3 separate regions of the Homo sapiens genome follow, and all the other regions are linked to region 3. The links are contacts of gene promoters, found by promoter capture Hi-C in blood cells and fetal thymus (Javierre and others, 2016). All regions are on one chromosome and are shown on one strand. The core of a region is centred on a gene start or on the middle of the fragment in contact, and the rest is flanking DNA. Distances in the headings are between cores, read along the strand shown. Region 1 has its middle 25 kb from the start of SLC10A2. Region 2 overlaps LOC124903211 (WAS/WASL-interacting protein family member 1-like). Region 3 holds the start of ARGLU1 (arginine and glutamate rich 1).

Region 1 (3,388 bases), core at 704-3,203, 3.5 Mb after region 3:
TGCCAGCACTTCCATCCCAATATTTACCCACAAAAGCCATCACCCTTGAGAGTAAAACTGTGAGAGCAAACAAAGGAGCACTGGTTAGAGACATTGAAAGAGGACACAGGGTTTTTTTTCCTCCAAGAGATACCAAACTATAACAAATGTCTGAGCCTTATCTATCTTTCTTAAGTTGGAATTCAGATGTGAAATGGTCAACACAGAGGCCCATGTCGCTATATTGTTAAGATTGAAAAGAGAAGTCAAAAAAATTTTTCTGACAAAAAGTCTGATGTAATTGACTGGTTTCTCTGCTAATTAAGAAATATAAAAGACATTTCTTGTAAATTACATGAGCTCGATCTGCAGCTCTAAGGTTTAAAAAATATATTTAAAACATATGAAAAGCACATTATAAAATAATTGATCTAAAATATATAAAGAACTCTTGAAACTCAATAATAAGAAGTCAAGGAACCCAACTGAAAAATAAGCAGAAGAATTTGAATAGACACTTCAGCAAAAAATGGTACTAAAAGCAAATAAGCACATGGCAATGGGAGGTACATTCATGAGAAGATACTCAACACGACAATATTAGATAAATCCAAATTAAAACCACAATAAGGTACCACTGCATGCTCAATAAAATAACTAAAAAGAAAAAAGTGCTGACAATAACAAGTGTTGACAAGAATGTAGATTGCTAAGCGGTACAACCACCTTCGAAAACGTGTTGCAGCTTCTCATAAACCTACACTAACCATGGGACCCAGCAGTCTCCCTCCTAGGTATTTACCCAAGGTAACCAGAAGTGAAAGGGTGACAGAAAGCCAATCAGGCATCAAGCATCTGGGGAGGCAATTACTGCAAAAAGATATGATGTACCATGTGGAAGTGACAGAAATGTTCTATATCATAACTTTGGTGGTGGATCCACAACTTTATACATTTGTCCAAATTCACAGAACTGTACTTTTGAAATTAGTGACTCTTATTCTATGTAAATGTTATTATAATAAAGCTGATCAAATATTTTTTTGCCCAAGATGTAGCAGGAAATGTATCTAATATTTTTATCTTCTCCACCCTTTTGTGAGAATAGAGTTAAATGTGGAGACTGTAAGTGGAAGAATAACAGAGTCTAGAGCTCTTAGATACATCTTGCAATGCCTTTGGTAGCACACTTTCCAGAAATTGAGATGGCAAATGACTTCAGTTCAAGAAACATTTTGAAAGATGGGTAATTCCAATTCTTTACTTTCAAGAAAACTGGAAGAGGATCCCATCAAGTTGTTAATCCTTGTATTTTAAAAAAGTTTTGCTGATAGACCACTATGTGGTATTGTTTTTGCGTGTAACTTGGAAATTTGAGGGACAATATATACCAAAAATCCTCTCGTTATCATCTTCCTTTTTATGTAAACAAGGTTTATAAGCACTTAAACCCATAAAAAAGAGGCACAAAATAGTTGTTGCTGTGTCTCAGTCTAACGATAACAGGACAGTGTATATTGCATTCCAGGCTTTCGTCTAAGTTCTTTACACATGTGAACTCATTTAGTCCTCACAATCACTCTGTGGGATATGTAATATTTCTCCCACTTTTACAATTGAGGGAACTTAGGCACAGAATGATTAAGTAACTTTCCCAATGTCACTTAGCTGGCAAAGGGTGAAACTTGAACTCCAGAAGTTTAGCTGTATATTCTGTTCTGTTGACCACAGCACTCAAGTACATAATATTTATCCAAAAATACACAGTGTCAAAATTCTCATAAATACATCACATTAGAATAAAATTCTATAATGGAAAAAGGATTACATAAGTTCAAGTCAAAAGAAAAACAATGTAAAATTCTCAAAAACGAAGGCAAAACTTCTCATTTTTTAAAAATCAGTAATAAATATCTATGAGGTGTGTAGATTTCAATGGATATATTTAAAAGTGATGTATCACTTTAATTTTAAATTTTCATTTTTACCAAATTGTATTTTCAGCTTTTGTCAGAAATTGAACTTGTAATTATTTAACCTTATGATAACAAATGTTAAATATCAACTAAGAATGTATAAAGTATACATCAGTTTTAAAAATTGTTTGGAGTTATATAATCAAGTTTCTTTTTTTTCTAAATTCCAGTGGTTTGACCTTCTATTAATTTGCTAAGTGGTACATTTAAAAACCTGTTCGGTGTTATAAAGCTGGTAGAGAAAAATTAATTCTAAGAAATCATCATTGCCTTTGCTGGGAATAAGTACACGCCAACAAATATACATGTAAGTAATAAGAGAGACAGTATCATTATTTAAAATTAAAAATAGTAGTTTAGGATGTTTAAGTACAAAGATTACTTACATGTCAAACCAGCAGGGTTTTCAGCTGCTTGATTGATTTATACAATATAAGTCAATTCTTAAGTCATTGTGGTTACTGTTCTCAAATCAGAAGAATTTTAAAAGAATAGCTTTGAAAAATAACAAATATGATTCTGTCCTTTTGCTACTGGGACATAATGACTCTTTCATGCCTCATGGCATAAGAAACATAAGGCTAAGTCTTCTAAGCTGTATCACTAATGTCAATCCTTTAAAGGAGTCAGTGAAGACAATACAGACATTCATTAAGAACAAAATGAGACAGAGAAGGAAAAGGGTTATGAAATCACGTTAAGTGAAAAAAGCAAATTGGTAATTAATTATATTTATATTGCAATCCTTGCAAATGATAGGGAATAAAAAGGAGGGGAAACATTAAAGGGTTTTTTAAGGAAATGAGACCATGAGGTTGCTTTTTCAATATTTTCCTTTACTATCATATGATATATGAGACAACAAAATCAAGAGAAAGAAATATTAAAAGTGGCTTCAAGGGTTAACATGGCTTCCCCGGGGTCAATGTACAGGTCTGGTGAGTATGGATGGAGTGGAGAGAAATGAACCTCTCCATTGGTCTTGCAGTTTCTGCCATTTGTACCTTCTTCCTTCCCACTGGCCCTAAGAATCTCTGCCCCTCACCAGTAAGGCACAGGCTTTTCAGGTGTAGCAGATACTATTGTCTGGTTAACCCAGCACTCATTTCCAACCCCCTCTCCGATTCCCACCTCAACTAAAAACTCACATGTCAACCTTCATTTGCAGCTAGGTAGCCATGTGACACCTTTCTAGACAATTACATAGAAGCAGAAATCTCTTCAGGAAGATTCTAGCAAAGCCTTTGGTAATTTTTTGTTGATGTTGCTATCGAGGTAATAGAGACACCTGTCATTGACCCTTCTCCCACCTCCTGCTGCCTTAAAGACAAAGGGTTGCCTGGTACTGCAACAGCGACTATAGAACAGCACAGAACCAGCTCTAGCAGTGTTGAGCCACTGAAGCAAAGCCAATAGCTGCCAGCCTGTAAACT
Region 2 (3,509 bases), core at 707-3,206, 3.2 Mb before region 3:
TTTGTTATTTATGTTTTTAAAATACATTTTTGTTATGTGTCATTTTCAGAGTATGTTTTCTTTCCTATCTTACTTTTTCCAATTTGCTTTTCAATCTTTCAAGATGACTTTGGCTTATCCTAAAAAGAATGTGAGACTTAAAGGTCAATGTAGGGGAGAAATACAATTAAAAAACACTTGGCTTGCCAGATAAGCAAATCTTGATTATAACTTATTTTTGATTAGGTAAACATTCTAAAATAATACTGAATTTAGATTCTTGTTTTTATTTTGTTGGCTAGTATTCTAAACTCTTAAGTGGGCAGTGATATACATTTCTATTAAACTGTATAAGTAACTATGCAAATTGGGATATAAATTGCATTAGAAAATATGAACATATTTGCTTGATACTTAATTCAACCATAAAAAATAAAGTATTGCACTTATTAATGTTCTCTTCCCTCATTTGTCATCTGATATTGCTCTTAGTCACTCACTATCAAAATTTCTTTGTTTAATCTTACTTCTATTAATTTCCTTAAAGTTTCATGCAAAGCAAATTTATGTCAGGTTGTAAGCACCTTTCTCTCAAAGCAACCACCACTGTATTTGTGACAACTCATGCCAGAACCCTGAATCTGCCTTGGGAAGAAACATTGCCAGTTGGTGGCAGCATTCACAAGAGAGGGTCACATTTCCTCTGTTATCTTTAGGTTGAATTTCAAAACAACTCTAGAAAACAGACTCAGAGGGCTAGCCTTGGAAACAGCATGCAAACAACTGCAGAAAAGCGGAAGGTTTCTGACTATAATACAGTTCTACCAAACAGCAGAGCATGTGGCAAAAAAGCCAGGCTGGCTCCCTTCCTCCTGTTTACCTCCTGAGCAGTGTATGAAACAGGGTGAGCTTGCTCCTGGAATCAATAGGTGAATCAATGAACACAGGCTGGTCTTCCCCACTTCATAACATCTGTACTCTGTACAAGGACACTCCGGGCCACCCTCGCTGAGCATCCTCCCGCCCTCTCCCAGAAAATATAGCTGTGTCATCTTACAGACATTTTTAATGTCATCTGCTTATGATGTGCAGATTGAGAAGCAGACAATTTTGTTCTGCTCTGGCATGAAAAAAAAAAAACGTTTTAATCGGCAGCTAGGATAGCAACATGAAGCAACACACAGGACATCAATTTCATCATGCAAAATACCGGTGTATTATATTACAGGGGCCAAGCATTCCAAGGAAAAGTAATGATCTAAGAAGATGCTCTTGCATTTTAAAAATATCTACTAGTGTTATACAGTCATTAATGTATAATTTCCATTTCAATAATAGGAAGCCTTCTGGGAAAAAAAGCTTGTGTTGCTTCTTAAATCTAGAAACACATTCTCAAAATTCAAACAGAACAAAATCCAGAGGCATATTAATAAATATTTTCAACTCCTAACCGCAGTCACTTTTTAATTGGGCATTTATGTATTTCTTCAACATAATTATATTTATAATGAAAAAATGTTGAGAATACTGGATTAGCTGCATTTGTAACTACAACATATTTTTCTAAACAGTATTAATTCAATTGATAAGACTTTAAAAAAGTTATAGTAGTTTGTTCTATCATATATGCACATTAAATAATCATTTATTTTAGAAAATCCTCCCTCATAAAATGAACATTTAGGAAAGAGACTGATCCATATTTTTAACAAGAATAATAAACACACAAGTAGAAAGCCTTTATAATTTCCAAGGGGCTGATCAATTCCATTAACAAATCCTGATACTTTAAATGTTTGCAATGCCATACATAGCAAATGATCCAAACAGCAGTTATATTCTCTCATGTAAGTCATTCTGTTGCCCATACACAGAGTTAGCATGTTACAAAACTCTTGTGAAATTTCAGTTGAAACATTAGCAAATAAATTTGCTGGTAAAGTGCAAGAAGTTTCCTTATAAACCCTAGATGAGGAAAAGTCTGTCCACAGTTCGTTCATCAGAGGAATGGAATTTCTCAAATGAGCTACTGAACAACATTATCTAATAAAATGAAATATAATGAAATGGTGCCACTCATTTTAAAGATTAAATATATCCTTTGACAGAAACCTGTGAAGTTAAAAATCTTTCCCTCTTAAAATACCTTTTAAATTAAAGCTATTCTAACTAGTTATATAGCATTCCACTTAATCTGCTTAGTTTTTAGATTGAGCTCACCTAAATACAAAATACTGTCAAACACCTACAGGGCAAAGAACTAAAAAAAGAAAGAAAATTTCACAAGCAATAAAATGCTATTCACCTTTCTCCTCCCATACTTGCCTTTCCTATATGAAACAAAGAAAATAATTAGTGATGTTCATTATTGGTAGTGCTACTAGTATTTGTATTGTGAACCTGTAACATATTTTTAAATCTCTACACTTTTATATAATTGATTCTTTCTTGAAAAGTAATTATTTCAGAAGACTTCTAATAAAATAATCATTATTGTATATGATTCTGTTAAAAATAGAAAAAACAAACAAACAGAAAAAACTCCCTGCTGAAAGATATGGCCATTTTATTAGCTGTGAAAGGAAAGAAAGCTTCCAAGGAAAGATCTTGGACCATGAGAAAAAATTTCAACCAGGCTGTTTGCTGGCAAGAGGCCATGCCAGCCCCAGCCAGTCCTGCGTGCAGAGCATGTTGGCAGATGTTATTAGCTGACTTTTGTTGAAAAAGTATGGAAGAACAGTTGGAAAATCACAAGGTGTAGAACAAGCTTTAAATAAATAAATAGCTTATCTGGCAATAGAAAGGGGGAAAGAAAACAAGTTCCTCGGTTGAGGAAGAGGACTGGGATACTTCTAATTACAGAGTTTCTTACTGTTGGTTTGTTTCATGGGCTGACTCTCAATGAGAATTGAAATTGTATCATCCACATTTGTATTTGGAGGTTCTAACTGCAGAATTGCAATTAATTTCCAGTTTGCTGTAGGAAATTTATACTCTCTATGACAGAATACCACGGACATAGGTGATAATTCTTTAACCTTCTCTCTTTTGTCCCCAGTCTGGTAACTGAGGCAGTACATGGGGAAAGTGCTAACTGCCAATCCAGAGCTGCTGACACCTTAAAAACACTGGCCTTTAACACTAGGATGGCCCCAAGAAACAAGCAAACAGGAAAAGATGACACCTGCTAGCGTGTGACAGGCACAGCAAGTAAATGTTCAATACGGATATGAAAATGCAACTGCATAATAAAAGTCAACATGAAAAAGAAAAAGATTGCAAAATATACTTTCTCAGAAGAAACCATCACATGATGTTTAAAAGTGGTGGTTCCTTTAGCATTGTCTACTGATGGCTGGCAACATACAGGAACATAGAGGTGGCCCATTTACATCCTCATAAAAGTGGGATGTAAGTGATCACAAAGCCAATAAAACTACACCACATTTTCTTCAAGCACCAAGATAAGAATCCCTTCATCTTTCCTGACTAGACATATTGCTAGGCAACATTTGTGAACGTAAGAAAAG
Region 3 (3,301 bases), core at 794-3,293:
TAAGGGCATTGCTATGGCTTAAATGTATGTGTCTCTCTAGAATTCCTATGTTGGAGCCTAAAATCCACTATAATAACATTAAGAGCTGAAGCCGTTTTGGAAGTGATTAAGAAATGAGGCTCCACCCTCTTGAATGGGAATAGTATCCTTACAAAAGAGGTTGACAGGAGTGTCCTAGTTCCCCCCCCTTTTTTTTTGCCCTTTTGCCTCCCATCCCTTCCCTCATGTGAGGACACAGTGTTCGTCCCCTTCTGTGGACCCAGCAAAACAAGGCACTATCTTGGAAGCAGATAGCAAGCTCTTATCAGACACTGACTCTGCTGGTACCTTTATCTTGGACTTCTTAGCCTTCAGAACTCTGAGAAATAATGTCTATTATTTATAAATCACTCAGTCTAAAGTATTCTGTTATAGCAGTGGAAATGGGCTGAGATAGGCACTAATTCCAGTTATGAGGTTAGAGCCCTCATGACCTAATCAATATCCCAAAGCCCCACCTTTTAATACTATTGCACTGGTGATTAGGTTTCAACATATGAATCTGAGGGAACACAAACTTTCAGACCCTAGAAGTGCCACTAAAAGAGAGCTCAGAGAGCTAGCTTTCCCCTTCTATCATGTGAGGGCACTGTGAGTAGGTGCCTTCTGTGAGTCATCTGTGAATCTCTGGGTCCTCACCAGCGACCAGATTGGCTAGCACCTGGATCCTGGATTTCCAACTTTCAGAACTGTGAGAAATAAATTTGTTGTTCATAAGCTGCCTAGTTTATGATATTTTGTTACAGCAGTCAACACAGACTAATACACTACTCTTCTTTGTTTCCAAGTTTTCTTGATAATTAATTATGTGATCTTCCATATAAAACTTAAAATTAATTAGTTCTAAAACACATATCCCCAAGAGAATTTGGGACTCTCATGAGAATTGCACTAATTTTGTAATTTGACTTGGGAAGAATTGACAGTATTTTTGATACTGACTACTCACCTAAGAATACAGCATGTTTTACATTTACTAGGGCCTTATTACTGCCTTTTCAGTAAAGGTTTATAATAAAGATTGTGTAACTTGTTAAAGTTTATCCCTAAGTATTTTATGGTTTCTGTTGCCATTGTGGAGGAAATATTATTTCATTTTTAATATGTTTTTGCTTATTCAAATAATTCTAATTTTTCTTCTACTTACTTAAGCTTTATTATTGCACTCAATTTTAAAATTGAGGCACCTAGATTTTCAAGGGTTCCTGTCATCTGCAAATATTAACATTGCCTTTTCCTTTTAGGTCTTAACAATGACACAGTTTGTTGTGCCACATAGGGACGAAGCTTTTCGTGGCTAGGGTTGAGGAGGGCTTGCTGGTTATGTGCAAGGGCTTTGCACAATATGATCTAGGTTCACGTCCCTGCTCTGTCACCTACTGGTTGTGTGACCCTTATTTAACCTCTGTGGACCTCAGGGTCCTCATCTCTGAAACGTGGATAATAGTAGTACTTAATTCAGAATTGTAAGAATTAAGCACTTGTTAATACATTAAAGCATTTAGAAGGCACATTAAGCCCTATAGTAAGCATTAGGTTACATTCATCAAAACCTGCTGCCTACTTACCTCCTGCAAGTCTCATAAGCACTTCAGAAAGTGTGGTGTCTCCATTCTACGAATGAGGAAACTAAGTCCAAGGCAGCAAGTGATGAGTGCAGGGTCACTTGGAGATACATTTTAGGGCTGCCCCACAAGACCAGCTCCTAGAAAATAATGCAATCAATCAACTTCTGCGAGGCCGGACTTAAATCCCACTAAAACGTGCTTAATTCATTCAACAGGCGTTGGCATCTTACCAGGGAGGAAAAAAAAAAAAAGAGTACGCCAAGGCGAAAAGGAGAGTCTCCATCTATTGCGTCTCAGGCTTCCGCCAAGACTGGCGGAAAAAAACGAGTCCGCTCCGAAGCGCTCGCCTGCCTTCGGCAAAAATCGTCAGGAGGCGGGGCCCACGCTTCGGCACGTTTCGCGCAGGGCATTGTGGGAAGGGCGGCCGGTGCAGCCGCAGCTGCCATCTTAGGGGCGCCTGGCGCTACGGGTTTCTCGTTGGAGGCGGCCTTCGTGGCAGCTGTAGACGCCGGGAAAAGGCATAAAGTCCGTTGGCCGACACCTTTCTTTCCTCCGGCCTCGGTAGAACCGCCAGCCCGCGTCCGAAGGCGGAGGCGAGGGGAACTGGCCGCGTGAGGGGCCTGAGGCGAGCGGTTAGAGCGTCTCCCGGAAGGATGGGCCGGTCTCGGAGCCGGAGCTCGTCCCGCTCCAAGCACACCAAGAGCAGCAAGCACAACAAGAAGCGCAGCCGGTCCCGGTCGCGATCCCGGGACAAGGAGCGCGTGCGGAAGCGTTCCAAATCTCGGGAAAGTAAACGGAACCGGCGGCGGGAGTCGCGGTCCCGTTCGCGCTCCACCAACACGGCCGTGTCCCGGCGCGAGCGGGACCGGGAGCGCGCCTCGTCCCCGCCCGACCGCATCGACATCTTCGGGCGCACGGTGAGCAAGCGCAGCAGCCTGGACGAGAAGCAGAAGCGAGAGGAGGAGGAGAAGAAAGCGGAGTTCGAGCGGCAGCGAAAAATGTGAGTGCCCGCGCGGGGAGGGACCGGGGCGTGCGGAGAGCAGGGCGCGGGGCGAGGGCGTGGGGCCGGGGCGGGACGGTGCGGGCCGGGAGAATGGCGGGGACGGTCCGGGGCTGGGGACCGGGCGCGGGAACGGGTCGGAGAGGCGGCGGCGGGGCGGGCAGGCTTGGCGTTTGGAAAGCTTGGGGTGGGACAGACCCAGAAGTTGTTCGGGATGGAAAATTCGAGGGCTTGAGCAGAAAGGGTTTAAGAGAAGGCGATTTTGGCGCGAGAGAGGAGTGGTGTCCCGGAAGTAGGGGTGGAGTTCGGAGTGAGGTCGGAGAGCTGCGTTGGCTTGTGAGGCCGGGAGCGAGCCGGCCTGCAGATGTGGAGGGTGGTGAGCGTTTGCTGGTCGGCTTGAGGAGGAGAGAGAAGGGAATTAACCTTTGAGATGCGAATCACAGCTGGCCAGAAGCATTCTATTGAAGCTCAAATTTGGGACAGGACTTAACTAATCTCGGGAATCATACACTTTAGGTGGTCCGCCAGAAAAATGCATTTTCACTTTAGTGTATTCCTGTTGTTAAGGTGTTGGGATTGCTTTTTTCCCCTTGAGCCTACACCCTCACCCCTTCCTTGAGATGTTAAAAAAAAAAAGCATAGACCTTAAGTGTACAGTGCGATGAGTTTTTTGACCTTTGAATTCACCTGTGTA

The links. Contacts are between HindIII fragments. The CHiCAGO score rates a contact against its expected background, and 5 or more counts as called.
Region 1: a fragment that was not itself captured here is called in contact with the fragment with the promoter of ARGLU1 in region 3 in 2 of 17 cell types (naive B cells and total B cells); the score reaches 6.1 in naive B cells.
Region 2: a contact is called between a fragment that was not itself captured here and the fragment with the promoter of ARGLU1 in region 3, in 2 of 17 cell types (total B cells and non-activated CD4 T cells). The highest score is 8.9, in total B cells.

The regions. Positions count from the first base shown.
Region 1 is chr13:103,039,350-103,042,737 of GRCh38, reverse strand. No RefSeq gene overlaps it. Among named protein-coding and RNA genes, the nearest start is that of SLC10A2, 25 kb to the left of the region's middle. The HindIII fragment of the contact is 4,279 bases long and covers 1-3,388 here.
Region 2 is chr13:109,788,659-109,792,167 of GRCh38, reverse strand. LOC124903211 (WAS/WASL-interacting protein family member 1-like) reads right to left here. Exons shown (of 2, transcript XM_047430835.1): 2 at 1,172-3,509. Among named protein-coding and RNA genes, the nearest start is that of IRS2, 3.8 kb to the right of the region's middle. The HindIII fragment of the contact is 1,232 bases long and covers 1,341-2,572 here.
Region 3 is chr13:106,566,879-106,570,179 of GRCh38, reverse strand. It overlaps ARGLU1 (arginine and glutamate rich 1), which reads left to right and starts at 2,043. Exons shown (of 4, transcript NM_018011.4): 1 at 2,043-2,607. The coding sequence starts at 2,261. RefSeq lists enhancers at 1,902-1,971, 1,982-2,101, 1,777-2,687 and a silencer at 2,582-2,881. The HindIII fragment of the contact is 1,462 bases long and covers 1,329-2,790 here.